Linked DNA regions of Homo sapiens: region 2 is linked to region 1. The links are contacts of gene promoters, found by promoter capture Hi-C in blood cells and fetal thymus (Javierre and others, 2016). All regions are on one chromosome and are shown on one strand. Each heading gives the region's core, a stretch centred on a gene start or on the middle of the fragment in contact. The rest is flanking DNA. Distances are from core to core; before and after follow the strand shown. Region 1 holds the start of DPPA3 (developmental pluripotency associated 3). Region 2 has its middle 24 kb from the start of SLC2A3.

Evidence for each region. The method cuts DNA at HindIII sites, captures the fragments that hold promoters and counts their contacts. A CHiCAGO score of 5 or more calls a contact.
Region 2: a fragment that was not itself captured here is called in contact with the fragment with the promoter of DPPA3 in region 1 in 1 of 17 cell types (M1 macrophages); the score reaches 5.5 in M1 macrophages.

Annotation. Positions count from the first base shown.
Region 1 is chr12:7,709,962-7,712,799 of GRCh38, reverse strand. DPPA3 (developmental pluripotency associated 3) reads right to left here and starts at 1,367. Exons shown (of 4, transcript NM_199286.4): 1 at 1,148-1,367. The coding sequence starts at 1,229. The HindIII fragment of the contact is 13,723 bases long and covers 1-2,838 here.
Region 2 is chr12:7,910,974-7,913,811 of GRCh38, reverse strand. No RefSeq gene overlaps it. Among named protein-coding and RNA genes, the nearest start is that of SLC2A3, 24 kb to the left of the region's middle. RefSeq lists an enhancer at 1-920. The HindIII fragment of the contact is 1,731 bases long and covers 613-2,343 here.

The sequences.
Region 1 (2,838 bases), core at 118-2,617:
GCCTGGGCAACATGGAGAGACCCACTGTCAAAAATAAAAATAAAAATAAAAATAGGACGGGCGCGCTGGCTTACGCCTGTAATCCCAGCACTTTGGGAGGCAGAGGTGGGCGGATCACGACGTCAGGAGATCGAGACCAGTCTGGCCAACATAGTGAAACCCTGTCTCTACTAAAAATACAAAAGATTAGCCGGGCGTGGTGGCACATGCCTGTAATCCAGCTACTTTGGAGGCTGAGACAGGAGAATTGCTTGAACCCGAGAGGCGGAGGTTGCAGTGAGCCGACACCGCGCCACTGCACTCCAGCCCGGGCGACAGAGACTCCGTCTCAAAAAAATATATAAATAAAAATAATGTTGGCGAGAGATTAAGAAAAACTTTAGGTTCAACTGAAGTTAAAGTTTCTCATATTGTTTCATTTTTTTTCCCTATCTTTTGTTTATTTGGTCTCTGTATTTGTTCCTTTTTACCGTTCCTGACATGTATTTGCTGTTGGGGAAGATACTGATGCAACGACGCTACGAGCCGCGTTCTGTGATTCCAATTATTTATCCCCAGAAACTGGTCTTAGAAATCTGAAGTACTGGCCGGGCGCAGTGGCTCAAGCCTGTAATCCCAGTACTTTGGGAGGCCGAGGCGGGCGGATCACGAGGTAAGGAGATCAAGACCACCCTGGCTAACACGGTGAAACCCCGTCTCTACCAAAAATACAAAAAAAAAAACGGGCGCGGTGGCGGGCGCCTGTAGTCCCAGCTACTTGGGAGGCTGAGGCAGGAGAATGGCGTGAACCCAGGAGGCGGAACTTGGAGTGAGCCGAGATCGCGCCACTGCACTCCAGCCTGGGCGACAGAGCAAGACTCCGTCTCAAAAAAAAAAAAAGAAAAAAAAAGAAAGAAATCTGAAGTACTCCTAAGCATAGTGAATAAAATAATACATTTCTCACCACCACCATCACCGCTTTTAATAAAGTCTTTGACCTCTCTGTGTTGACTCCCTCTGGTTTGAGGTTTACCTAAATACATTCCTCTTGCAAAGACTGAAGTCAACATTAAAAAAAAAAAAAAAAAAAAAAAAAAAAAGACGGCAGCCTTTTGACCTCCCAACCCCCCTATAGTCAGATAGTCAAGAAGGGCATTATCTGGCTTACCTGAATCGTCCCGGGAATTTTCTTCGGTGAGCATTTGTGGAGACCCTGGGATGTAGGTTGGATTAAACTGTGATGGGTCCATCGGCGTCTTGACACAACACTAGGCTTCTCCAGGATCTTTGAAACGTAGCAGAAACTGATGACAGAGCCTCAAATTGCTACCAGGTAGCCCGGAAAGAGGCTGAAAACCGGAGCTCCAACGAATGGTCAAAGAACTGACGTAAACTATAGGTCCGGCTTCCTTTTAAAATACAGATAAGCCAATCTTCCAGGATATTTGAATGTTAATGATCCCATGATTAGAGGATTAAGGGATCCAAATGATTAAAGGTGAATGGGTGTAGTTTAGACTCATAGGGTAGTTCTTCATCTGCTTTGCATTAAAATAATCTGTCGGATGTCATATCTGCTAGAAAATTTATTAAAATCCTCTTTTTGTGGTTCTGTCTCCCTGAGGTTGCCTTACATATAAGTTGTTTTTTTCTTGTTTTTTTTTTTTTTTTTTTTTCCCAAACTCTACTCCTGGAGATGGCTTCTGTTTTGTGAACTGGGCTTAAGTGTTCTAGTGCAGAGGAGAATGGCAGTTTTTACCGCCCCCGCCCCACCACCACCACTGCCCATAAACTCCCAATTAAGCTGAGAAAGTTTCCTTTAAGTTTTCCTTGCTTCAATCATCTTAAACCTTTGCTGCTACTAAGAAGAGAGGAATAATGAAGAAGTATCTGTTATGAACACTTTCATAGCTTGATATTTTAGGGACATGTATTTTTTATTTGTTAATTTGCTTTATAAACTATAAACAGTACCTAACATTTCTGAGCAGCTGAAATTAACTAACCTTACAAATTGCTACTCCCTCCCCACAAAAAAATGCTTGTATTTGTAGCAAAGCACAACAACATTTAACCACTGATTGTCTGCAGGAGGTGGAAGAACAAGTCCCCAGCTGCCCCTCTCATCTTTTTCCCGTCTTATTCAAATACGCACGTTCCCCCATTCCCTCTCTAGGTGGAAACCACGAGAAAATACTCAAAGGCAACCTTGTTTGGGTTTGGTAAAAAGCAAAAATTGAAGTTATGATTAAGAAATATTTTCATAGAGAATGAGCAGCCATAGGCATAGATCATGTCCCAACACTTTATGCAAGTGATTCTCAAAAGTGTGGTCTCCAGGATCGCTTAATCACCCAGCAGTTAAAGGCTGCAGTGACCTATGATCGTGCCACTGCACTCCAGCCTGGTAGACAGGGCAGGACCCTGCCTCTTGGGAAAAAAAAAAAAGTGCAGTTTACAACAAGCACCTAGTTAACTTAGATATACAAATTCTGAGCTCCAAACCAGCCCTACTGAATCAAAGACTGGCGCCCAGTGGTAATGCTTTAACAAGCCTCCCAGGCAATTCTGCATTTAGCCAGAAGACCCAGAAGTGATCCCCAGGTGATTCTGATGGGTGCTCAAGTTAAGCAGCCCTGCTTTACGGCACTGTGAACTTTCTACTTCTGTTGTTCAGCTCTTGGCTAATCTCCCTCTTGCCTGGGGAATCTCTGATAATCAGTCCGCAAGAATTTCACTGGAGAGATAAATACAAAAAAATCCCATTGCAGGGGGTTTAGGATTAGGAGGTGAGATAACAAAAAGGGCTGAAATAGACTCTCATTTGTAAAAAACCTAGGCTGGGCACAGTGGCTCACG
Region 2 (2,838 bases), core at 229-2,728, 200 kb before region 1:
ATTAGCCGGGCGTGCTGGCTCATGCCTGTAATCCCAGCTACTCGGGAGGCTGAGGCAGGAGAATCGCTTGAACCCAGGAGGCAGAGGTTACGGTGAGCCAAGATAGTGCCATTACACTCCAGCCTGGGCAACAAGAGCGAAACTCTGTATCAAAAATAAAATAAACATTTTGCCGTGATTATATTCTACTTTTAAAAGCGTAAGTACACACAACAAATATTTAGAAAATTCTCAATCATCTCTCTTTTTAAAACATTGTAGCTTTTGGCCAGGCGCAGTGGCTCATGCCTGTAATCCCAGCACTTTGGGAGGCCGAGGCGGGCGGATCACGAGGTCAGGAGATCGAGACCATCCTGGCTAACATGGTGAAACCCCGTCTCTACTAAAAATACAAAAAATTAGCGGGGCATGGTGGCAGGCGCCTGTAGTCCCAGCTACTCGGGAGGCTGAGGCAGGAGAATGGTGTGAACCTGGGAGGAGGAGCTTGCAGCGAGCCGAGATTGTGCCACTGCACTCCAGCCTGGGCGACAAAGCGAGACTCCGTCTCAAAAAACAACAACAACAACAACAACAAAATTGTAGCTTTTTCCTTCTTCATAGATTTGGGAAGCTTCATTGATATTGGACTTTTCCCAGGAAGGCTTCATGGAGTGTGGAGGCCCAAGATAAAGTCTAGGTAGTCTAAAAGGAGATCTCTGCATAAAGGATGAACAAGAGATCAAACCATGGTTCAGAAGAAGACAGCAGTCCTCTTTTGCTTTTTCACCTTGGTGCTGGACAGAGGAGGAAAAAAAAATCTCGCCAAGAATTCTTAACTACACATTGGTCCCCATGCAGTGTCGTTGTCTGATTTTATGCTAACTGTGTGGCTAAAAATCTACAAATAGAAAATATAACTTAAAGCGGTTCTAGATTAGTACAGGTCCTAAACAACTGAGAGAAGCAAATGTAAATCTTTTCTGGAGGAATGCCAGTTCAACTCAGAGTTCAAAGTAGTCAATTATAAAATAAGAGGCCAGGCGCAGTGGCTCACGTCTGTAATCCAAGCACTTTGGGAGGCTGAGGCGGGTGGATCACCTGATGTCAGGAGTTCGAGACCATCCTGGACAACATGGCAAAACCTTGTCTCTACTAAAAATACAAAAGGCTGGGCACAGTGACTCACACCTGTAATACCAGCACTTTGGGAGGCCAAGGTGGGTGGATCACTTGAGGTCAGGAGTTTGAGACCAGCCTGACCGACATGGTGAAACCCTGTCTCTACTAAAAATACAAAATTAGCCGAGCATGGTGGCATATACCTGTAATCCCAGCTACTCGGGAGGCTGAGGCAGGAGAATCACTTGTACCCGGGAGGCAGAGGTTGCAGTGAGCTGAGATCAGGCCATTGCACTCCAGCATGGGCAACAAGAGCAAAACTCCATTTCCAAAAACAAAACAAAACAAAACAAAATCCAAAAATTTGGATGGGCATGGTGTCTCACGTCTGTAATCCCAGCACTTTGGGAAGCTGAGGCGAGTGGATCACTAGAGGTCAGGAGGTCGAGATCAGCCTGGCCAAGACAGTGAAACCCCGTTTCTACTAAAAATACAAAAATTAGCCTAGCATGGTGGTGCACGCCTGTAATCCCAGCAACTCAGGAGGCTGAGGCAGTAGAATCGCTTGAACCCAGTCACTATTAAATGAATAAGCCTTATAGATGATAAATTCCAAATATTTTACATGGGGGAAAAAAACAGACTACGTAAAGAAAAACAAACCAACCAATTTTTTTTTTTTTTTTTAAAAGATGGAATCTTGCTATGTTGCCAAAGCTGGACGTGAATTCCTGGGCTCAAGCAATCCTCCCGCCTCAGCCTCTCGAGTAGCTAGAATTACACACACACACCACACAAACCAACTACCTTTTTTTTTTTTGAGACGGAATCTCCCTCTTGTTGCCCAGGCTGGAGTGCAATGGCACGATCTCGGCTCACCACAACCTCTGCCTGCCGGGTTCAAGTGATTCTCCTGCCTCATCCTCCCAAGTAGCTAGGATTACAGGCATGCACCACCACGCCTGGTTAATTTTTTGTATTTTTAGTAGAGACGGGGTTTCTCCATGTTGGTTAGGCTGGTCTCGAACTCCCGACCTCAGGTGATCCACCCGTCTCGGCCTCCCAAAGTGCTGGGATTATAGGGGTGAGCCACCACGCCCGGCCAGACAACCAACTACCTTTAAAAGAACAGAAAAGGGTTTGGGAAGAGAAAACAGAAAAAGCATTACAAAGTAGAAAGCAGATAATAGAATGATAGGAAAAAATCTAATTATATAAGCAATAACAAATATAATGGGATAAGCTTTTCAAATAATAGTAGATTATCACATTAGATTTTTATTTATTTATTAAAAATTTTTTTTTGAGACAGGGTCTCAGGCAGACCAATTTTATTGATTCATATAGAGGCAAACAAATTATTAGAATATCATATCTAGCAATGTATTAAAAAATATAATACATCTTGGCCAGGCTCGTCGGCTCATGCCTATAATCCCTGCATTTTGGGAGGCTGAGGCAGGTGGATCACTTGAGGTCAGGATTTCGAGACCAGCCTGGCAAACATGGTGAAACCTTGTCTCTACCACAAATACAAAAATTAGCCAGGTGTGGTGGCACGTGCCTGTAGTCCCAGCTGCTACAGAGGCTGAGGCAGGAGAATCGCTTGAACCTGGGAGACGGAGGTTGGAGGTTGCAGTGAGCTAAGATCATGCCACTATACTCCAGTCTGGCTGACAGAGCAAGACTCTGTCTCAAACAAAAACAAAAACAAAAAAAAAAAAACGGAAAAGAAACTCT